6 separate regions of the Homo sapiens genome follow, and all the other regions are linked to region 6. Evidence: promoter capture Hi-C in human tissues and cell types (Jung and others, 2019). All regions are on one chromosome and are shown on one strand. The core of a region is centred on a gene start or on the middle of the fragment in contact, and the rest is flanking DNA. Distances in the headings are between cores, read along the strand shown.

The links. The method cuts DNA at HindIII sites, captures the fragments that hold promoters and counts their contacts. A contact is called where the count stands out against the background at its distance.
Region 1: a fragment that was not itself captured here is called in contact with the fragment with the promoter of PDGFRA in region 6 in 1 of the 25 tissues and cell types used here (aorta).
Region 2: a contact is called between a fragment that was not itself captured here and the fragment with the promoter of PDGFRA in region 6, in 1 of the 25 tissues and cell types used here (lymphoblastoid cells).
Region 3: a contact is called between a fragment that was not itself captured here and the fragment with the promoter of PDGFRA in region 6, in 1 of the 25 tissues and cell types used here (aorta).
Region 4: a contact is called between a fragment that was not itself captured here and the fragment with the promoter of PDGFRA in region 6, in 1 of the 25 tissues and cell types used here (lymphoblastoid cells).
Region 5: a fragment that was not itself captured here is called in contact with the fragment with the promoter of PDGFRA in region 6 in 1 of the 25 tissues and cell types used here (lymphoblastoid cells).

The regions. Positions count from the first base shown.
Region 1 is chr4:53,046,773-53,050,742 of GRCh38, reverse strand. All of the region lies in intron 5 of SCFD2 (sec1 family domain containing 2), which reads left to right. LOC124900701 (a long non-coding RNA gene) reads right to left here. Exons shown (of 3, transcript XR_007058116.1): 2 at 2,708-2,869; 3 at 1,645-1,730. Among named protein-coding and RNA genes, the nearest start is that of SCFD2-AS1, 120 kb to the right of the region's middle. The HindIII fragment of the contact is 3,051 bases long and covers 529-3,579 here.
Region 2 is chr4:52,535,306-52,539,086 of GRCh38, reverse strand. No RefSeq gene overlaps it. Among named protein-coding and RNA genes, the nearest start is that of USP46, 120 kb to the left of the region's middle. The HindIII fragment of the contact is 3,875 bases long and covers 1-3,781 here.
Region 3 is chr4:53,105,383-53,109,282 of GRCh38, reverse strand. All of the region lies in intron 5 of SCFD2 (sec1 family domain containing 2), which reads left to right. Among named protein-coding and RNA genes, the nearest start is that of SCFD2-AS1, 180 kb to the right of the region's middle. The HindIII fragment of the contact is 4,966 bases long and covers 1-3,900 here.
Region 4 is chr4:52,918,101-52,921,883 of GRCh38, reverse strand. SCFD2 (sec1 family domain containing 2) reads left to right here. Exons shown (of 9, transcript NM_152540.4): 6 at 1,014-1,159. Among named protein-coding and RNA genes, the nearest start is that of SCFD2-AS1, 7.3 kb to the left of the region's middle. The HindIII fragment of the contact is 3,372 bases long and covers 340-3,711 here.
Region 5 is chr4:52,640,990-52,645,117 of GRCh38, reverse strand. The region is part of intron 1 of USP46 (ubiquitin specific peptidase 46); the gene reads left to right. Among named protein-coding and RNA genes, the nearest start is that of USP46, 16 kb to the left of the region's middle. RefSeq lists enhancers at 2,905-3,094, 3,105-3,174. The HindIII fragment of the contact is 3,806 bases long and covers 1-3,320 here.
Region 6 is chr4:54,227,593-54,231,488 of GRCh38, reverse strand. PDGFRA (platelet derived growth factor receptor alpha) reads right to left here and starts at 2,196. Exons shown (of 23, transcript NM_006206.6): 1 at 2,074-2,196. RefSeq lists an enhancer at 2,898-3,723. The HindIII fragment of the contact is 9,376 bases long and covers 1-3,896 here.

The DNA.
Region 1 (3,970 bases), core at 805-3,304, 1.2 Mb after region 6:
AGGTAACAAAGCAGTGAGAAGCCATGAAAGGGTTTTCAGCCTATGAGTAACTTGATCATATCTGTGTTTTATAAAACACTGACCTCAATGTGGAGAATGGGTTGGAATGAGGCCAGAGATGGTGTCGGCAATCAGGTGCATTATCTGCCTGGCTTTTTCCTGGTTTTTGTTCTTTCTTCATAGCCTCCCACCACTGTGTGCAAAACTCTCCAGCTTCAAGGGGATGGCTGTAATTTTCAGTTCCAGACATAGAGATGTTATCTGTTTTATTGAACTAGAATAATCTAATCCAATTCTGAGCTTTGTCATCTTGAAGTATTCCTCATGGCCTCCTCTACAACCTATCTTGATTCGTTTAATCACGACAGCTATTTAGCCAGACTGTTGCTGGTGAGGTTTGCTGCCACTTAATCTGGAGCTGTTAGAAAGCAGTGCTCATGACTGCCTTTTGTGCCATTTTGAAAATGTCTAATCAACACCTCATTTGTCCACCATTATTGGGGGAATAAGATATCCTGGTAAGATCTTGCTTCTCTTAAGTACTTAAAGGTGTTTTTAAGACTTCTTTTTATTTGCTGATCTCAAAAGTGGCCACAGAAACAACATTAAACATAGAATTTTAGAGAAAGAAATTCCTTACCTCCATTATATGACTACCTTTGCATGTGACATTCGAGTGTTTGCGGACTCATGTACACATATCAAAATATTTTCTATTGTGTTTTATTTTTTCCTGTTTAACATCTATAGCCTGTAACAGGAGTAAATAAACATTTGCTGAATGCTGAATCTATGAATGAATACATGCCAATCAAAGAATTTTTTAAAATACTGAAAACCCAAAAGAAGGAAATTAAAATGACCTCAAATAAAACAAAAACATCAACAAAATGACCTATAACCCCTCCACTGAGAGAGAGCATTTTGTCTGTGCATTTTATCTAATTTTCTGACATAAGGTAGTCATTATCATTATCAGAAATTTTTTAAAGAGATAGACTCAGATTAGGCAGCTTGGTGCAGGAGGCTGAACCAGGCAAGATTCATGATTCCAGCTGATGCATGCCTTCCATTCACTATGCCCTGCTGCCTTTCTGCTCACTCTTTAACATTATTCTGTCATTTGGGAACAAAACAAGGAGGAGACGATAGCTAATGGCAGTGAAACATGGTGGTTTAGAGCACCAGAAACCCAGACTGCCTGGGTTTGAATCCTACTTCGGCTATGTAAGCTTGCACAAGTGATTTAACCTCTGTAGACTGACCCTCAGGTCTGTTGTGACGACTAAATAAGTTAATATAGGTTATGAAGAGTGCATAGCACAGTGAATAGCACATGGTATGCACTATACCACTGTTTGTTGTTACTGTGATTGTTACTATTAGTACCAATAATCTACACTCAGGTCACTAAACATTCCTCTTCACCATCCTCTTGCATTAAGGTTATGAGTGTGCCAGACAGAGTTCCATGTCACAAGACTTCTAATGGCAAGGCTGGGCAGACATTCTTGGTATCATATCTTGTGTTCTTCCTAGTGAATTCCAGACTCACAAAGATTAAAATTTGTTTCCAGCAAGAAAATGTCCTTTCCACATGGAATTAACCGTGTGAAGTCTCTTGTGTTAAACTGAACTGGGTTGAAAGAAGGTACGCCATTCTGTTGTGCTTATTCTTTGGGACACGTTTTCCAATTCTCACACACTGTTCATCTGATTTACTCCACAAGCTGAAAAAGATTCCTAAGATTAATGTTTTGATGCTTTATTTTTATTATTTATTTATTTATTTATTTGAGACTAGGTCTCGCTCAGTCACCCAGGCTGGAGTGTAGTGGTGTGTGGGAGTCCAGGGAAGGCCTCCCTAAGCTTCCACCTGACAGATGACAGGAAATGGGGAGGCAGAGGATGTGAGCAGCTTTAGAGGAAGCAAGAAGGGGCACTGGGAGTTGGAGGAATGCAGGCAGCATGGCTGAAGCCCAATGAGAAGAGAGGCAGGAGCCAGATGACCCAGGGCCTGGAGGGCCATCGAAATAAAACATTTGAGATACACAGCTCCCTGCAGCCCTGACCTTTCAGGCTCGAGCGATCTGTCCACTTCAACCTACTTAGTAGCTGGGACCACAGATATGCACCACCACCCATGGCTAATTTTTTATTTTTATTTTCTGTAGAGACAGGGTCTCCCTATGTTTCCTAGGCTGTTCTCAAACTCCTGGGCTCAAGGGATCTTCCTGCCTCAGCCTCCCAAAATGCTGGGATTACAGGCATGAGCCACTACACCTAGTATCTTCATTTTTTCAGGTCAAGACAATACTGCAAAGGTTAAAGTGACTCTCTAAGTTTTAGAGTATGTCTGTGTGTATGTATGTATGTACTTATTTATTCATTTTGAGACAGAGTCTTGCTCTGTCACCTAGGCTGGGGTGCAGTGGCACGATCTCGGTTCACTACATTCTCTGCCTCCAGGTTCAAGTGGTTCTCATGCCTCAGCCTCCCAAGTAGCTGGGACTACAGGCACACACCACCACACTGAGCTAATTTTCGTATTTTTAGTAGAGACAGGATTTCGCCATGTTGACTAGGCTGGTCTTGAACTCCTGACCTCAGGTGACCCACCCACTTCGGCCTCCTAAAGTGCTGGGATTACAGGTCTGAGCAACTGCGCGTAGCCTAGAATATTTAATTAAAAGATTTTTCAAGCTACCTTGCTGGTGATGCTGCTGGGTCTTGTGCACTGGGTAAGTGAATGCCTGGGCCACATTTAGCAGTCACCAGACAGTACACACATTCCCTCACATGTGACCAGTCAGGGCAGAAGGGCTGTCAGGTCGAAGAGCTGTCACATTTTCAGAAGAATTAGACACCCCTGCAAAATATTATCAGTTCAAGTCCAGAAGGTTACCTACTGGAGATGCCCATTTCTGAGACAGTTTAAACCTCATTTCTCTAAGGAAAACAAACTAGCAAAGCACACCTTGGAGTTTGGGGGAAGAAATAAATATGCCATTCCTGGCTTTCTTTGGATAGAAACAACCTAAATGGAACCACAGAGCCAAAAATTGGAAAAGAGTAAAGTCATTCTGAATTTTAAAATCGTAAGACGGTGTAACATGCATGTCAGTCACCTGATAGAAGTGTATGTGTGTACATGTGTGTGCATTAGTGTGCGTGGTACAGGTGAGAGGAAGATATCATGAGGAACAGATAGTTAAGGAGTCAAGAAGACACAACCTGCAAAGAAAATACTTGGAAGATAATTGTGGGGCTTTTTGTTTGTTTGTTTTTTGTTTTAGAGACAGGGTCTCACTCTGTTGTCCAGGCTGGAGTGCAGTGGTGTGATCATGGCTCACTGCCACCTCGACCTCATGCACTCAAGTGATCCTCCCACCTCAGCCTCTCAAGTAGCTGGGGACTACGGCACATGCCACTAAGCCTGCCTAATTTTTTAATTTTTTGTAGAGTCTGGGTCTCACTATGTTGCCCAAGCTGGTTTTGAACTCCTGGCTTCAAGCAGTCCTCCTGCCTCAGCCTCTCAAAGTGCTGGGATTATAGGTTATCAGCCACTGTGCTCAGTGAGAATTGGGATTTCACACTTTTGAGAATGGCAGGGGAGCAGGAACTTTGTGTTTTTTAAATCTATGATCTTTAAGTTATAGAACAATTTTTGGAATATAGTAGGCATTCAGTAAATATTTATTACTGAAATATGAAAAGAAGTCAAAACTTGGGAAAATAATTACTACACACATCACAAAAACACATAGCTTTGGTCGGGCACAGTGGCTCCCTCCTGTAATCCCAGCACTTTGGGAGACCAATGCAGGTGGATCACCTGAGGTCAGGAGTTTGAGACCACGCTGGCCAATATGGCAAAACCCCGTCTCTACTAAAAATACAAAAGAAAATTAGCTGGATGTGGTGGCGCGTGCCTGTAATCCCAGCTACTTGGGAGGCTGAGGCAGGAGAA
Region 2 (3,781 bases), core at 652-3,151, 1.7 Mb after region 6:
AGACAGGGACACTTAAGTCTGCAGAGGTTACTGCTGTCTTTTTGTTTGTCTGTGCCCTGCCCCCAGAGGTGGAGCCTACAGAGGCAGGCAGGCCTCCTTGAGCTGTGGTGGGCTCCACCCAGTTGGAGCTTCCCAGCTGCTTTGTTTACCTAATCAAGCCTGGGCAATGGCGGGCGCCCCTCCCCCAGCCTCGTTGCCGCCTTGCAGTTTGATCTCAGACTGCTGTGCTAGCAATCAGCGAGATTCCGTGGGCGTAGGACCCTCTGAGCCAGGTGTGGGATATAGTCTCGTGGTGCGCCGTTTCTTAAGCCTGTCTGAAAAGCGCAATATTCGGGTGGGAGTGACCCGATTTTCCAGGTGTGTCCGTCACCCCTTTCTTTGACTCGGAAAGGGAACTCCCTGACCCCTTGCGCTTCCCAGGTGAGGCAATGCCTCGCCCTGCTTCGGCTCGCGCACGGTGCACACACACACTGGCCTGCGCCCACTGTCTGGCACTCCCTAGTGAGATGAGGCTGGTACCTCAGATGGAAATGCAGAAATCACCCGTCTTCTGCGTCGCTCACGCTGGGAGCTGTAGACCGGAGCTGTTCCTATTCGGCCATCTTGGCTCCTCCCTAACACATTCTTTAGAGGAAGATGAGATGACTTTCTGAATAAACATAACAATAGATTAGGAATGTCCATAGAAGAGACGTGTACCCTTTTCTCTTGATATGCAGTATATTTAAGAGATAGGGAAACTGATGGACACAGGAAGCCACAGACCAGGTGCCAGACATATGTGAAGAAGCCCAAATGAGTTTGCTCACTCCTATTACTCCCATTCCCAGACTTCCCTACCTTATCACCCCCCTGTTCTCCCAAACTTATCAAGGTGATTCTGTCCTCTGCGTTTGGCCTCTCATCTCATCCTCCCAGCATACAACACACTAGACAAACACATACATCCACACTGTACAAATAACACACCCCACTGCTTGGTAGCAAGGAATACACTTACCTGTGTTACTTCGAGTAAAAGTAGGGGACAGTTTGCTAGCATATTTGTGGGACTAAGGAAAACAGGAATCTCAAGCTTGTTGCCAGGCCTCCTGGGAATCGAGGGAAAGCCACATAACAGCCAAAGAAGAGTAAGACCCACAGGACAGCAGAGCATCAGAGAGCCCAGAATAAATCATCCCATGCAGAAGGTCATTCAGTGTCCAGTTAAATGTCCTGGACACTGATAATCTTGTTGCTGGCCCTCTGTCCTGTCTCCCTGCTTATACCAGAAGCTGGAATTTGTTGATCTTCAAGAGGTATAGCATTATGGGGCCTACCTCCTTTTTGCCTTTATCTTGAACCTGCTCGAAACATCTCCCTCGTGCTCTATTTAACGTATATTTGGACTTCTGCCTCCTCACAACTTCTGCTTACTCTAATTTAATAATTTCTGCTTTCTCTTGACCTTTCATTATTCTTTTGAATCTTGCCTGCCTTTTCTCTGTTTTTTTTTCTTTCTCTCTTGCTAACGAAGATGGATTCTCTCCCTCTATCTCTTCTTCGTATTCCTGAGAATTTCCCCATATTTTCATTTTATATCATATTTTTATTTCATCTTCATTTTCTATTCCAGAGAAAGATAATTTGATGCCTTTATCATCATTATTTGTGTATAACAGAGATTTCTTACCAGGCTATCTCACAGGCTATTGGGCAATTCTAAATTGGCTGCCTTTGGGTTGGGTGTCCACTTCTGGTTCAGTTAGTTATAGCCTGGGGTGGGGTCACATGGTGCAGGGCATGGCTGTTTACGCTTATGGAGCAGAAGCTTGATGAAGTGCTTTGAGTATAACCGCTTGTGAGGGGTCAATGAGGGTCGTAGATTTCAAGGCTTTTTCTGTCCGACATACATACTACCTCGAACTCCCACCTGCAATGCCATTCTCTTGTCCATTGCTCATCTTCTTGCTCATGTGGTCCAAGATTGCATTTTGTAGGTTGCTGCTTGCCTTACTTGATAGTCTTGCTTTTCTCTTTAATGGAGAGTGAAAGATGAGTTTGGGAAGAGCTGGTATGATTTTGCTTCTTTAATCAAAAAAGACCTTGAGAAACAAGGAAATGTTTTCTGGTGATGTATAACAACACACACCTCTCTTAATGGCCTCAGTGGTAAATTCAATATACCGTGACTCCTCCCTTGAGAATAATGTTTTGGGGAATGAGAAGTGGGGTGAGGTGGAAGGAATTTGGAACGTAACCTCAGGCATCTGTCCAAATACTATCCTTTTCTAGTCACTACTGCCGGTTCTCCAACTGTCCAGGCCTCACACCCCCAGAGAGCACCAGCTCTGGGGCCATAAGTGTCCTTTAGGATTATTATTCAGCCCTTTAGGTCAAACCTAAGATCTTTTTCCCACCTATGCAGTCTCAATCTTCTATTCTCTTTAAATAGCTGCCAGTGATTGTGCTATTCAGAGGTTTCTTCTCAGAATGTAATTGCTCTCTGCATACTTAAATGCCCTGGTTTCTATTGTCTCTGAATGAAATAACTTCAGATAATTCTGAGTCTGGATGATCAGACTGATGAAATCTGAGGAGAACTGAAATTGGGAAAAAATATCTTATATTTCCTCTCCTGGTGGCATCCTCATGTTTCAGAAATGTAGACAACTAAACTCTTCTGCAGAGTTCCAGAGTCTGTCTCCTGCATGTCAATGATTACTCTTAGTCTGTGAAAACACCAGGCTCTGATTTCTAGTAAAATCTAGAGTTTCCACAGACATAAATTCTTATTGTGTACCAGGCACTGCTATGGGAATGATAGGTTCATGATGATTGAGACAGATGTATTTGTTAAGGTAATCCTAGAACTTGTAACAAACAAACTAAAGAATGTGTAATGGCTCAGATGTGATAGAAGTTTGTTTTTCCTCACATAAAGTTCACAACGGGCATTGCTGATGAGTGGATGCCTCACCCAAGTAATATGTGAGGACCCAGATTTCTTTCGCCTGTGGCTCTCATGTCTTCAGCATGTGGCTTCCAAAGTCCCTGTAGAGCACGGAGGGTTGCCTGTGGCGTAACTTTATCAGCAAGACCAGGAAGGGTGCACATCACTTCCATGCCAATGGCATTGGCTAATGCATGTCACGTGGCCTAACTGCAAAGGAAGCTGGGAGACAAGGTTAGGTGTGTGCCCAGGCAGAAGTGGAAATGGGTTTGATGCATACATGGCAGTTTCTGTGAAAGTAAACAAGATGCCACTTTTCCCAGAAGCATTCATCTGTGATTTTGTGGAGTGGAGGATACTTCAGAGTAAGACAGCCTGAGACTGGCCCATTAGGAGGACTCAGTGAGCCAACAGACATCCTGACTTTTAATCTTATTTGCCAAGATGGTTACCAAGCAAACAGCAACTAATGATTTGGCTTCCACAGATTGCCTAAAGAGAAATAACACATTGCCTAAGAGCAGCAGAACTCTAGTTCAGCCTTCAGGAAGCACATTGGGGATGGGGACCAGGTGTCCACAACTTTAGCTCATCTCCTGGCCCAGATGATAACCATGGCTGATATATATATACACACACACACACATATAATTTGTATATATATAATTTACATATATAATTTATTATATATAATTATATATAAAATATATAATTATATATGTGTGTATATATACATATATACACATATGTTTACACATATATACACACACACATATGTGTGTGTGTATATATATATATATATATAAATTCCAACTTATATTTTAAGTTCAGGGATACATGTGCAGGATG
Region 3 (3,900 bases), core at 1,202-3,701, 1.1 Mb after region 6:
TCCAGTTTTTGCCCATTCAGTATGATATTGGCTGTGGGTTTGTCATAGATAGCTCTCATTATTTTGAGATACTTTTTATCAATACCTAGTTTATGGAGAGTTTTTAGCATGAAGGGGTGTTGAATTTTATCGAAGGCCTTTTCTGTATCTGTTGAGATAATCATGTGGTTTTTGTCACTGGTTCTGTTTATGTGATGGATTACATTTGTTGATTTGCATATGTTGAACCAGTCTTGCATCCCAGGTATGAAGCTGACTTGATCATGGTAGATGAGCTTTTCAATGTGCTGCTGGATTTGCTTTACTAGTATTTTATTGAGGATTTTCTCATCGATGTTCATCAGGGATATTGGCCTGAACTTTTCTTTTTTTGTTGTGTCTCTGCCAGGTTTTGGTGTCAGGATGATGCTGGCCTCATCAAGTGAGTTAGAGGGGAGTCCCTCTTTTCCATTGTTTGGAATAGTTTCAGAAGGAATGGTGCCAGCTCCTCTTTGTACCTCTGGTAGAATTCAGCTGTGACTCTGTCTGGTCCTGGGCTTTTTTTGGTTGGTAGGCTATTAATTACTGCCTCAATTTCAGAACTTGTTATTGGTCTAGTCAGGAATTAAACTTATTCCTGGTTTAGTCTTGGGAGGGTGTATGTGTTCAGGAGTTTATCCATTTCTTCTAGATTTTCTAGTTTATTTGTGTAGAGGTGTTTATAGTATTCTCTGATGGTAGTTTGTATTTCTGTGGGATCAGTGGTGATATTCCCTTTATCATTTTTATTGTGTCTATTTGATTCTTCTCTCTTTTCTTCTTTATTAGTCTGACTAGTCACTTATCTATTTTGTTAATCTTTTAAAAAAAGCACCTCCTGGATTTATTGATTTTTTAAGGGTTTTTCGTGTCTCTATATCTCCTTCACTTCTGCTGTAGTTATTTCTTGTCTTCTGTTAGCTTTTGAATTTGTTTGCTCTTGCTTCTCTAGTTCTTTTAATGGTGATGTTAGGATGTCAACTTTACATCTTTCCTACTTTCTCCTGTGGGCATATAGTGCTATAAATTTCACTCTAAACACTGCTTTAGTTGTGTCCCGTTGATTCTGGTACATTGTGTCTTTGTTCTCATTGATTTCAAAGAACTTATTTATTTCTGCCTTAATTTCATTATTTACCCAGTAGTCATTCAGGAGCAGGTTGTTCAGCTTTCATGTAGTTGTGGGGTTTTGAGTGAGTTTCTTAATCCTGAGTTCTAGTTTGATTGCACTGTGGTCTGAAAGACTGTTGTTCTGATTTCCGTTCTTTTGCATTTGCTGAGTATTTTACTTCCAATTATGTGATCAATTTTAGAATAAGTGCGATGTGGTGCTGTGAAGAAGGTATATTCTGTTGATTTGGGGTGGAGAATTCTGTAGATGTCAGTTAGGTCCACTTGATCCAGAACTGAGTTCAAGTCCTGAATATTCTTGTTAATTTTCTGTCTCATTCATCTGTCTAATATTGACAGTGGGGTGTTAAAGTCTTCCACTATGATTGTGTGGGCATCTAAGTCTCTTTGCAGATCTGTAAGAACTTATTTTATGAATCTGGGTGCTTCTGTATTGGGTGCATATATATTTAGGATAGTTAGCTCTTCTTGTTGCATTGATCCCTTTACCACTATGTAATGCCCTTCTTTTCTTTTTTGATCTTTGTTGGTTTAAAGTCTGTTTAATCGGGGACTAGGATCACAACCCCTGCTTTTTTTTGCTTTCCATTTGTTTGTTAAATATCCCTCCATCTCTTTATTTTGAGCCTGTGAGTGTCTTTGCACATGAGGTAGATCTCCTGAATACAGCACACCAATGGGTCTTGACTCTTTATCCAATTTGCCAGTCTGTGTATTTTATTTGGGGCATTTGGCCCATTTATGTTTAAGGTTAATATCGTTATGTGTGAATTTAATCCTGTCATTATGATGCTAGCTGGTTATTTTGCCCATTACTGGATGCAGTTTCTTCATAGTGTCAATGGTGTTTACAATTTGGTATGTTTTTGCAGTGGATAGTACCGGTTTTTCCTTTCCATGTTTAGTGCTTCCTTCAGGAGTTCTTGTAAGGCAGGCCTGGTGGTGACAAAATCTCTCAGCATTTGCTTGTTTGTAAAGGATTTTATTTCTCCTGTGCTTATGAAGCTTAGTTTGGCTGAATATGAAATTCTGGGTTGAAAATTCTTTTCTTTAAGAATGTTGAATATTGGCCCCCACTCTCTTCTGGCTTTTAGGGTGTCTGCCAAGATATCTGCTGTTAGTCTGATGGGCTTCCCTTTGTGGGTAACCCGACCTTTCTCTCTGGCTGCCCATAACATTTTTTCCTTCGTTTCAATTTTGGTGAATCTGATGATTACATGTCTTGGGGTTGCTCTTCTCGAGGGGTATCTTTGTGGTGTTCTGTGTATTTTCTGAATTTGAATGTTGGCCTGTCTTGCTAGGTTGGGGAAGTTCTCCTGGATAATATCCTGAACAGTGTTTTCCAACTTGGTTTCATTCTCTCCATCACTTTCAGGTACACTTTCAGGTACAATCAAATGTAGGTTTGGTCTTTTCACATAGTCCCCTATTCCTTGGAGGCTTTGTTTGTTTGTTTTCATTCTCTTTTCTCTAATCTTTTCTTCACTGTTTATTTCATTAAGTTGATCTTCAATCTCTGATATCCTTTCTTCCTCTTGATCATTCGGCTATTGATACTTGTGTATGCTTCACGAAGTTCTCTGTGTTTTTCAGCTCCATCAGATCATTTATGTTCTTCTCTAAACGGTTATTCTAGTTATCAATTCCTCTAACCTTTTTTCAAGGTTCTTGGCTTCCTTGCATTGGGTTAGAACATGCTCCTTTAACTCAGAGGAGTTTCTTATTACCCACCTTCTGAAGCCTACTTCTGGCAATTCGTCAAACTCATACTCCGTCCATTTTTGTTCCCTTGCTGGCAAGCAGTTGTGACCGTTTGGAGGAGAAGAGGTGTCCTGGTTTTTGGAATTTTCAGCCTTTTTGTGCTGGTTTTTCCTCATCTTCATGGATTTATCTACCTTTGGTCTTTGATGTTGGTGACCTTCAGATCGGGTTTTTGTGTGGACATCCTTTTTGTTGATGTTGATGCTATTCCTTTCTGTTTATTTGTTTTCCTTCTAAACAGTCAGGCCCCTCTGCTGCAGGTCTGCTAGTGTTTGCAGGTCCACTCCAGACCCTGTTTGACTGGGTCCACTCCAGACCCTGTTTGACTGGGTATCACCAGTGGAGCCTGCAGAACAGCAAAGATTACTGCCTGTTCCTTCCTCTGGAAGCTTCGTCCCAGAGGGGCACCCACCAGATGCCAGCCAGAGCTCTCCTGTGTGAGGTGTCTGTCAACCCCTGCTGGGAAGTGTCTCCCAGTCAGGAGGCGGGGGGTGGGGGGGTCAGGGACCCAATTGAGGAGGCAGTCTGTCCCTTAGCAGAGCACGAGCACTGTGTTAGGACTTCTGCTGCTCTCTTCAGAGCCTGCAGGCAGGGACATTTAAGTCTGCTGAAGCTGCGCCCACAGCCGCTCCTTCCCCCAGGTGTACTGTCCCAGGGAGATGGGAGTTTTATCTATAAGCCCCTGACTGGGGCTGCTGCCTTACTTTCAGACATGCCCTGCCCAAAGAGGAGGAATCTAGAGAGGCAATCTGACTACTGCGGCTTTGCGGAGCTGCAGTGGGCTCCATCTTGTTTGAACTTCCCTGTGGCTTTGTTTACACTGTTAGGGGAAAACCACCTTTTCAAGTGTCAGAAATGGTAAACACCCCTCCCCCGACCAAGGTCGAGGGTCCCAGGTGGACTTCAGACTGCTGTGCTGTCAGTGAGAATTTCAAGCCAGTGGATCCTAGCATGCTGGGCTCCATGGGGGTGGGATCTGCTGAGCTAGAC
Region 4 (3,783 bases), core at 776-3,275, 1.3 Mb after region 6:
CCCAGCCTGCCCCATACACAAGCCAAACATGCTTCTACATCAGAGAAAGCCCTTAGACAAGAAGAGGCAGAGGCAGAGAGAGACAGACAGACAGACTAACTGCCTGACATGCAGGTACTGAGGTAGGAAGCAGTCGGAATACACAGAAACTTTACCACTCTCGCAGGGGACACCCAGGGTGACCGAGTGGGTATGGGCAGGGCCTTGGCAATCCTTGACACAGGGGTGTTACTTAACCTGCACCTCAGTCCCCTTATACTTAAAATGGTGGAGACAATAGTTCCTGCCTCATACGGATGATGTGACGATTAATGAGTTAATGTAGCTGATGTATTTGGGAGAGGTAAGAAGACATATTTTTAATCTTTTCCTATTTTTTTTTAACTTATCCATGATCATGTCTCCTCTGAATGAGCTTCTAACAAAACAGAGAATACGTTCTTCTGAGTTTGAAAAAGAAACAGAAGGTTGCAGAAAACCGTCTTCTTGTTAAGTCCCCCTGTGTTTGATCAGCTTTGAATGGCAGCCCTCTGAAATGTGCCACGTGCTTTGTTAGTGCATTAGACAGGATCTTTCTCATTCTTGCTGTCCTGCTTTATGGAAACTATTGGTGGGATTCAAGCAAGTGAGTTTGATCATAACAGTCTCTCGTATTTTCCTTTGTGTCTCCTCATATTTTCCCAAAGTCGTGTTCCGAGGATTATGGGCCCTAGGAGCTTGCTTTCTGTGAAATGTCTGCAGTCTAGGGATGGAAGCCAGTGGCTGAAATCCCAGGCAATTTTGAGTTCCACTTCTGTCAAAGGCATTTATACTCAATTTGCTTCATTGCTCATGGACGATTGAAACAGCCCAGTTGGTAAACAGCCAGAGGAAAACAGGGTAAAAAATAACAATAATAATAATAATAATAAAGAAAAAAAAAAACCTCCCAACTACATTACATCGAGCTCAAGCTGTCATGATGAAAACTTAAAGATTTACTCACTCAAGAAAATATCTCTGGATTTTTTCAGACTGGGACTCTTCAATTAATCTGACATTTCACAAATCCAAAATTGCCGTGGATGAACTCTTTACTTCACTTCGGGATATTGCTGGAGCTCGGAGTCTCCTGAAACAGTTTAAGTCTGTATATGTTCCTGGAAATCATACCCACCAGGCAAGTATATACGTTTTAAAGTAACCTTCTAATCTGTTGTACTTCTAGGATTCAGAGTCTATAGAAGAAAAGGTTCCCTTTTAACCTTCCTAAAACCAAAGGTTTGTTCTAGATGATCTCCAAGTTCTCTTTTAGTTCAGAGTTTTGGGTCCCACGGAATCTGAAAGCCTCTCAATTCATTTATGCCCCAGGCTTGATATGGTGGGATGAGCACTGAGTTGGGAGTCAGCCATGGCTTTCTAACTGTGGGTTTGTCGCAGACTGATTCTATAGCCTTCTGCAAGTCCCTTCTCTCCTCTGGGAGCCAATGACTACAGGTACCAAATGAGGGGCTGGCCTTAGAGGATTCCCAAGTTTCTGGATCTAACCAGTCCGTAAACATTTTGAATGAGCAGAATAATGAAAACACCTGATAATGTTACGACAAGGGAAAAAGTTTGTGATGAAAATATGTGTTATTTAAAATTCCTCCACTGCTTTCAAAGGAGGGCAGGAGGACCTAAGAAGAATGTTTTTTGACCATTGAGTAAAGAGATGGTATCAAGATTAAGGTATAATTGCTGTGTAAAAACTCAGAGGGGGAAAGTACATAGAAAGACCCAAAGGGAAGCTTAAGGAATAAAGAAAGGTTAGAGCCACTGAGGCTGGGGAGTCTTTGTTGGACAAGGTAGGAGACAGAACTAAGGTTCCTGGTGGCCAAAGATGAGCTCTCAGGGAAGAACAAATGTTTCTGTTGGAAAAGATGACTAAGTTTAACTGTGGGGAATCTTATTTATTTCTCCATAAAACCTTTAGTAAAATAAACTCTATTTGTTAAGGCTTTTTGGAGAGCTGAATGTGCTGTTAGTGGGGAGGAGTTCAGCTTCAGGGTGCTGACTCTTTAAGGGAGACTTGAGCTAATGTTACCCACTGCAGCTAGCACAATCCAGATTCTTCCTCCAGTATCCTGTATTTGTTTGGGAGCTGATACCTGAAGAGCACTTCTACATTGGATTTTTCCTTTGATTGCCACAAGTTATGCCAGGGAGGCATTATTATTCCAAGATCCGGGAAGGCCAAGTGACGTGCCACAGGCATGCAGATGGCCAGGGGCAGATGCCAGATCTTTGCTGCCAGCCCAAAACCTCCTCCCTGACTATAATATGGTTCTCATAGAGATTCTAGAAGTGTTGATTGGTGGTGCTGATGATCATCTGAAATCACCTACCAAGATACTGAAGACCTTAGAAACTGTCACTCTTCTTAGAAACATAAAGATTTTCATCCTTTACTCAAAGATCTGAGAATGCCACGGCGACAAAATACAGATAAAATCACTCAGGTATTCATACGTAGTTTTGTCATTTTAAAAAATCAGCAATCTTAAATACTATAATGTGGACTAGTTCCAAAAGACATGCTAGAACTAGTGATATATGATGACATTGAGACCAAAAATGTCAAGAAGCAAGTGGCTGGTGTAGTTGGCAAAGAGAAAATAAACCACTAAATGAATGAGGTCTTTCCCATTTTATGTCATCCGGGTGACTGATTTGGCCAACTTCACGTAAACATGTATTAGCTATATATCTTGCACGTGATAAGGACAATAAGTTTCTTAGACCTTATCTCCCTGCTGCCAACACTGTCATTTCTCCAGCCCTCAGAACCCTGTCTTGCAGCCATGGCCTTTGGAAAATGGAGTTTCCCTTTGTCGCATATGTCCCCCCTTACAATAGTCAATAACATCAGCACACTCCCAACAATCCTAAGTGTCAGTGAGTGGGAAGTGGAGTGGAGGTAGGGTAATGTGTGTACATTGGGGGGATTAAATAAATAATGATACAGACACATGGTGAAATGCTGTGCAACCATTACAATGAATGGAATAGACCTAGATATGCTGAGCAGGGTGTGTGTTTGAATCCTTGGCCCAAGGTCCGCTTCTTGGGGAGCTCAACTGAAACAGAGGTCCATGATCAATTGGGTGGCAGTGAGGGGACATGTAGGTCATTCTGTAAAGCATTATTCTATTTTTGTAAAAATAGAATAAAATAAATATTTCATAGGTATGTATACTTAATGTCTTTAAAATTTAGGAAAAATTTATAATGGTTACCTTATGGTGGATGGGTAGGATTGGATGGATAAGGAGAAACACTGATTTCTTGCTTTATTTTTACATATTCTATACATGTGACACTTTTTAATGGGATTATGGGTAATTTTTACCTCTGGGTTTTTCAGTGTTTTTCAAATTTAAAATATTTTTAAATTACAGATGTAAGCCTTGTGACAACAGGGATTTTTATGGGTTTTGTTCACTGCCGTATCCCCAGTACCTAGAGTGGCATCTGTCACATAGTGGATGCTTAGTAAATATTTGTTAGGTACATCTTAAGTACAATACATATATATTTATTACAGATCAGGAGATTTATTTGGACACAAAATATGCATGCATAGGAAAGTACAAGTGTCCAGACTAGACTCAGAGTCCAGCTGCGTGTCTGGTTTAGAAAAATAGTCCTTGGCTAAACAATATTCTGTTCATCTCATCTACCAATTTGGTCCTCAGCCCTGTGACTCCAGAAGAAATCTATGCTTTCTACCCAGCTCCATGCTGTCTCCAGACAGAATCTGAT
Region 5 (4,128 bases), core at 168-2,667, 1.6 Mb after region 6:
GAGTACATGGGATTATAGGTGCATGCCACCATGTCCGGCTAATTTTTGTTGTTGTTGTTTTGAGATGGAGTCCCTCTCTGTCACCCAGGCTGGAGTGCAATGGCACGATGTCAGCTCACTGCAACCTCCACCTCCTGGGTTCAAGCAATTCTCCTGCCTCAGCCTCCTTAGTAGCTTGGCTTACAGGCGCGTGCCACCACGCCCGGCTAATTTTTTGTATTTTTAGTAGAGACGGGGTGTCACCATATTGGTTAGGCTGGTCTCAAACTCCTGACCGCGTGATCCACCCACCTCGGCCTCTCAAAGTGCTGGGATTACAGGCGTGAGCCACTGCGCCTGGCCAAGGTTTTTTTCAGAGGTTTTTTTTTTTTTTTTTTTTTAATTCAATATCATGTAAGATAGCGGTCCCCAAACTTTTTGGCACCAGGGACAGGTTTTGTGGAAGACAATTTTTCCACAAACCTGGGCAGAGCTGGGGATGGTTTTGGGATGAACGTTCCACCTCAGATTATCAGGCATTAGACTCTCAGAAGGAGTATGCAACCTAGATCCCTCTGATGCGCAGTTCACAATAGAGTTCACTCTCCTATGAGAATCTAATGCTATTGCTGATCTGACCGGAGGTAGAGCTCAGGTGGTAATGCCTGCTCACCTGCTGTGCCGCTTGGTTCCTAACAGGTCACAGAACTGTACCTGGGGGTTGGGGACTTCTGACATAAGACATAGAAGTGACATGTTGTCATGCTGTGGGATGAAAATGCCCCTTGACTGCCTTCTTGTTCATGATTGCTTTCCCTGTTGAAGCCTGGAGAGGAGTGGGCTGTTGAAACAGGAGCCAGGGTTGTGGAATAATGGTGTTAAGATCATAGGTTCACCACTTACCTCTGCCTCATGCTAACACTTGACCTTGGCAAGTTAGTTAACCTCATTTCCTTCAGCTATGACATGGGGATAATGAGTCCCCATCAGTGATTTATTTGGCAGAGAGAGTCACATTCAGTATTGCTCAGTGGGACAGGGGCTCCGTGGTGATATGTTGCTAACTAAACAGGTCAGGCATTCGTAGCCACTCTGGGTAAGTGCCCGGTGGTTAGGTAATGTGTGACAGCCAGCAGCCAAAGTGGACATACTCAGAGACAGTTCCTGGCTGGCTGCCCAAGCCTTACATCTGTAGCTAAAGAATTACTGAAAATGTGAATGAAAATATCTCCTCTCCTGGCTTGTGGTCCAGAGCTCAGACTCAGGAACCGAATTTACATAGGTTTGAATCCCAGATCTGCTCTTATTGGCTGAGTGAGCTTGGGCAGGTTCCCTACATTTTTTTCATGTGTAGAATGGGGATATTAAGAGTAATCTGCCTTGGGGTGGCAGGCAAGATTAAATGAATATGTAGATGTGAAGTTCTCTGAATGAGTGGCACCTACTGCTAACTTTTCCCCTGCTTCCCAAGTTTATTCAGTGAGCAAATTTATCAAGTGCCTTCTATACAACCAGACATTCTACTAGGTGCTGGCAAATGAATCAGACCTAATTGCTGCCCTTATAAAGCTTATGGCATAGTACAGGGGTTGGTAAGCTTTTCTGTAAATGTCTGGACAGTAAATGCTTTAGACTTTGTGGGCCGTAGTGTCTCTATCACAGCTACGCAATTCTGCTGTTAATATTGTGAAAGTAGTTGCCATAAGTAAATGAATGATCATGGCTGTGTTGCAGTAAAACTTTATTTATGACAACAATTGGTGGGTCATATTCTGCCCATAGGCTGTAATTTGCAGACCTGTGGTCTAGTGGGAAGACAGTTGTTAAATAATTACAATTATGATGTTACAGATTGTGCTAAGGGCTGTGGAGGAACAGACAGGATTCTATGAGTGGGAAGGGTCAGGGAAGGTAGCTTTGAAGAAGTGACATTGAAACCAAATGATGAGGAGAGGCAGCCAGAGGAGGAGATGGAGGGTGCTCCAGGCTGGTCTGTGGGTTCGTATCTTTTAAAGGCATAACAGATATTCTGCAGCTTTCTTTGGATTAAAATAAATAATTTCGTTCCTCTATTTAATTCATCGCCAGTTTTCTCCTCCCCTACCCTCTCCCTGCAATAATCCAAGAGATAAGCTATGTTACCAAGAGATAAGCTACATTAATATATTAACACATTTTGTTCTGCATATGCACTTTCTTTCTCTCCCTTTTCCATTGTTTTTGTTATATTATTGTCAGTATCTATCCAAGTATTTAGTAAAGATTGCACATTATTTCATTATTAGGTGTAGAATGGTTTACTCTCTAGAACTCAAATTTGCTTTTTGGTACGGTTTTCTCTTTTAGCATTTTAAAAGTTGACATTATTTGTTTTTATTCTTTGGCTAGATAAAAGGTCCACAGTCTTTGAAGTGATTTTGAAAAAAAATCTGCTTTCCTCTTAACTACATCTCATGTCTCCTCTGACTCCCAACCTCAATTTTATGTTTTCTCTAAACAAGTTGCCAGTACTCTGTAGAGATTCCATGGAAAAGGACTTGTGTGTTCTCATTCTAGAAAATTTCAAGGGGTGCTTCAGAAGGAAGGGGGTTCTCCCAACAACTTTGTGACCTCTTCGGTTTCTTCAGTTCTTTCAGTTCTGTGGTTCCAAGGAGACTCTGCCTCCCTGAGAGTCAATATTATGTAGTAGTTAGGGGCACACACACTGGAGCCAGATTGTTCAAGTTCAAACCCAATTCCAGTACTTAGTAGCTGTGTGAACTTGAATAGTTCCCTGCCCTCTCAGTTTTCTTATCTTTAAAATAAGGCCAGTAGCAGTGTCTGCCTCATAGAGTTATTATGAAGATGAAAATGAATGAAATACAAGTAAAATCCCTAGAACAGTAACTGTACACAGTCTATGCTATTTATGAGTTCTCTATTATTATTAATTACATCAGAGGCATCGGTAGCCATAATTCCTCTGTAATCACCCTTGAATTCTGTCAGGTGTCTTCTGACTCATCCTGAGATCTTGGGCTGAGTCACTTCATTTTTGCTTCACTTTCTTCATAAGACTATAGGAATGATCTTTGTCATCAGAATTCTGGGGACACTAGTCCTTTTGAAAATAGGTCCTTTATGTGCTTTGTACTTTGAAAGTATAGTTGATAAGTAGAGTAGCCTTTTGAACGATAGATCTACAAATGTGGGTTTAGCAGCAATGTTCACCTCTTCTGTCATCCACTTTAATTTATGGTCTATAATTAATGACTTATTCTCTATGTACTTAGAAATCCTTACATGTTATCTTTGGCCTTTCTTGTGTCCCTTCCTTGTACAAACTTGAAAGAAAGGCTGCATGTCCTAGGATGCAGATAAATGAGGTGCCTTAGAAAGATCTTGGGCAAGTAAGTTTACTTCTCTGGGCCTTCGTTTTTTAATCTGTGGCATGGTCTGGCTCTTCTCCAAGGATGCTTCCTGGTCCCTGTGTTTTTGTTTTAGGCTCTTCCATATTTTGACAGTGTTCTCATTGGTTTTTCCAGACCTTTTAATGCCATTGTTTTGATTATTTCCTCCTTCTGGGCAAGGCCGTCTTCATCCTTTACCCCTCGACCAAGGAAGAAATTCTAACTTGTTTTCCTTGTAAATTGCTTCAAAACATTTCTTTCTTTATCCGTCTTATGCATTTATGAATCATCCTTCCTGGGATTTTGTTATTGTTGTTTGTGTTTTGGTAGCACCCCTTGGCAGTCATAGAATTGCTTTCAGAGGTGCTTTGAGGAGCTAACATTATAGTCTTGTTGGAACTTGTCCCAGCTCAGATGCTATTTTTAATAAAGTTGGCTGCACTGTTTTTCAAAGGTTACTACGTTTTTTACTGATGGAAATAAGAACCCTATGTTTCTTATGCTTCCCGACCCTGTGATTTACCCCCCAAGATCGGTACTTTGTTCACCATCTGGTCATATAACAATTATTTTTCAGTTCCCCTCATTGCCTTTTGTGTCTTGTGCAGGGTGCTAGCAATAGAAGTGCAATCTCTTGGGTTTGTAACATACTTTACAATTTATACAGTGCTGATAACATTCCCAGTTTTGCTTCATTCTCTCTGCTGCCCTGAGGAATAGTCAGGCTGGATATCAACAGCCCAGCCTCTCAGCCAGGAAG
Region 6 (3,896 bases), core at 947-3,446:
GCCCGGAGAGCCCCTTCCTCCCCTCCTGTGGCTCCGGGGATGTTTGTCCGGTGAGATGCACTGCGGAGGACTGTCGTGCGTTTGCCCTGGATGCTCCCTGCTCCAAAAATCTGTCTAGTTCTTGTCAGGAGCGACCGCGGCGAGGCGAGTCGGTCCAAAACATTGAGCAATTTGGCCTCGGAGCCAAAAAGCCATTTCCCACACCGCCCAGCCCGCGGCTTTTCGGACGCGGGGCGGTAGGGACCTGATATGGGCCCCATCCATGCTTGCCTCCCACCCAGGAAGATGGAGTGAGTGGCAAGTTCTTCCAGGCACTCCTTGCGCACATCCTGAGGTCTTAGCACAATTCGGGGAGCGAAGTGCGGGACCGGCGCTCTGGCTGCGGGAGGGATGCACAACGCACAGCCTGCCAGGCCAGCAAGTCCTTCCCGACCAAGACGCGAGGCCAGGCCATCGGCAGCTCTCGCACACCTGGCCCGGCCCAGGCTCCTGGCTCCCTCTGGCAACGTACTCGGGTTGGGCCACACTCGTCGCTCCGACCTGGCCGACACCCTCCCGGAATAGAACAGCTGATCCCACATATTCAATGCCAAATGGACGCCGCCCGCTCCCTGGGCGCAGCCGGGCGGAGTTAATTTCGTGTGTAAATCTGGTTTCCATGGGGGTAGACAGCAGAGGAAGGAGAAGTACGCACAGACGGCTCTGAAGCCGGCAGGGAGAGGAATGGAAAAAAGGCCAACTAGAGAGGACCGAGCAGCGCTGGGCGAGCTCAGACGGCAAGTGCCACGCACCCCCGCGCGGAGAAGGGTGCCGGGTAGGGGGTGTCCAGGGCTCGGGTGCCCGGAGGGAGAATATGGTTTACCTCCCACCTTTCTGTCTTACCTGCAAACAAGTTTCCCCAGTTCCAAGTCGTCCCTAACTTCCTCACAAGAAGTTCGGCACCTTCCTGGAGACCTTTCCTCTCTTCCTGCCTGCGGCCAGAACTGAGCGAAAGCAGAGCCCCCGGGCAATGCAGAAATGATTCCACCGAGGAGGGGGCGCGGGAAGACAGGCGGGGGCGGGGGCCACGGAGCACAATGAGGGCCCCTTGGTGTGCGGTTCGAAATTCCTCAAATCCCAGTTGCTGGAATGCGAGGCGACGACGACTTCTTCACTCAGGGCCAAATGTGTTTGTCATTATTCCAGACCGCCCGCCCGCGCCGCCGCTGTCGCCCCCGCGCTAGGGCGTGCAACCCGAGCACACTGCCCGGCAGGCACCCGCTCTCCCTGGCACCTCACTGACCCAACAAACCGCTCCAGAGCGCCCCAAACCCTTGCCCACGCCCGCGCGCCTCTGCTTGTCCCGCAGCCGCCTCACCGCCGCGCCAAATCTGGCCCCGACTCTCTCCCAGAGCAGCGCCGTCCAGTAATCACGCGCATTCGGCCGGCTCCCTGTGCTGTAGGCCAACACCGAGGTCCGGTCTCCAGCCGAGCCCAGCCCGCCTCCTGCGCCCCGCAACCCCTTCGCGCGCCCCCCTCCACGCTCCCCTCCACGCTCCCCTCTCCCCACCTCCCCCTGGTCCCCCAGCCGCGCTCCACACCATGGGCTGCAGCGCTGTCCCGCCAAACCGCAGGCGAGGAATGAAAACACTCATTTAAAACCTGTCGCCTTCCAGGACCCACTGCCAAGAAGAGGGCAAACACCTCTGCCTCCACCCCCAGTTCCTTGGTGTTCGGCCCAGTATTCACGAACACCACCCCCACTCCCAAAAGAAACCTCAAAAATGTAAGCCTAAACAATTTCTTTGGGAGGCCATAGGGTTGTTAGAAAAACATTGTTTTTAAAAATAGGTCTGGAAAATGTGTGTTTAAAAAAAATACCTAGACTTTCTAACTCTATGGTTATCTCCCACCCGTCCCCAAGTGAAGTTTATTCCGAAAAAAAAAAATTACTCTCTGGACACACAACTGGAATCCAGCTCCTTTTTTTTTTTCTTGTCGCCCAAAGTTTGAAGTTACTTCGCTTTCTCCAGTCCCAGAGTCTGATCAGGGACTTCCCTTATAAACAAAAAATCATTTTTTCTTTTCCCTTACCTTCTCCTCCGATGTTATTCCGCAATGAATGTCCCACACATGGAGTAAAGAGCGTGCCCACGGCCTCCAATGATCTCTTGCAGTCTCCTCCTCTGTTTCTCTCCCTGTAGCTCCAACAGTAATGGGCTCAAAAACCGCGTTTTGTAATTGATTCAATGTTATAGTCCATCCTTCTAAAACTAATCATTTGCTCTAAGTAAATAGCTGTCAGGAAATAAGCCCCCCCTCAACCTTGGTCTCTTCAAAATAAAAGTTTCTCTCAAACTCCCTGCGCTCCGAATCTCCCAGTGTCCAGATTGCGCCTTCGCTTTTTGCTCTTACGCAATCAGGGGGTCCAGTCCCAACCCCCAGACTTCGACAACAACTGGGGGGCGGGGAGAAGCAGACCAGATGGGATGGGGGGTGGTGGAAGGGGGAGGTGTTGGTGCTCTGCCGGGAAAGAGGTTTTGTGAAACTACAAACAGCCCATCATTTCCAGAATGAGTTTGCCTCCCCATTTTGGGGTTATTTTCTTAGACTGCTATAGTTTTGTATTCTCTTTGAAAAGAAGAAAAGGAACATACAAAATTGCATTTAATACCCAGAGAGAATATAAATCTAGAATCAAGAAATGTCCCTTCTACAAACTCGGCCCAACGAGAAATAGGGCCCTCGGGAGAAATCTCCAAGCGGTTGCGCCGTTTTGAACTAGGGGTCTTTTAGGGGAAGGGCTATATAGTTGCTAGTTATTTAATAGGATTGGGCAAACTGTTGAGTCCAATATGACAATGATGGGTTTTTGTTTTGTGTGGTGTGTGTGTGTGTACAAGACTGGGTGGTCTGAAATACGGTACAAAGAAAAGAGGGTCTGTGTAGGTTTGGAACGTTCTCCGATAGAACGACCTTTACTCCCTTGAAGTCACTTATCTGGTCGTGCCTTTGTTTTCGGGGTTATCTGGGCGAGGTTGCCCTGGCTTCTATCTCGCATACAAAAAAAGCTCAAGCTTGGGCGTTTGAGGAATCGTACCACCGCCTCCGCGTCGTGGGGGAGGATGCCTTTTGATTCTCCCTCCGTTCCCTCCCGCCGCGTGGGTCGAACCCTACGAATTCCTTGGAATTGACAGCTGAGCCCCAAACCCTGCGCCCAAGGCGAGAGGCCAGTGTCGGGAGGAAACGATCCTGCCGGCGAGGGAAAGGGGGCGCTGATGCTCCAGGAACCAGACCTGGGCAGAGTGGGGCTTCCCAGCGACAGCGGGGGAGGGGAGCGCGTTCACCTTCATCGCTCTCTGATTTTTGAATTCTCCTGTTGGGGTTGGGGGTCATCCTTCATCCTTCTCCCTCAACCCCACCCCAACACACGCACTCTGAAAATGGCCAAAGTGGCCAGGTTGGGACTGGCATGTCCAACAGCCGTCTCCTCCTTCACCAGGAGGGTGGACACAGTGCAGTGGACAGGGGAGAGTCACAGAGAAGTACTCCAACGGGCGCGGTGCTGTGCCTAACCAGGACAGGATCTTGGGATGTCAGCCTCGAAAACAGGGCGCCTGGGGCTGCGCTGGGGGTCCCATTGCCGCAGTTCTTCTACGCGACCCGCTCTCGTGCATCTTCAGCTTGGGTGACTGCACCGCTCGCTATTACTTCCACATGTCCCTTCAGGAAATCATTGAAGGCAAATATATGAACAGCCCCTTGTTCGGAATGCTAACAGGATACCGTAATGTTTGTAGAAAATGAGCGGGAACAAACGATCCCCCCAAAAATCAGAGTGCGGAATAAAAGGCAAAAGCGGGTGCTGGGCCACATGCTGTTAAGTTGAGAACCGGGTTTTTAGGCTAGTTGCCCCA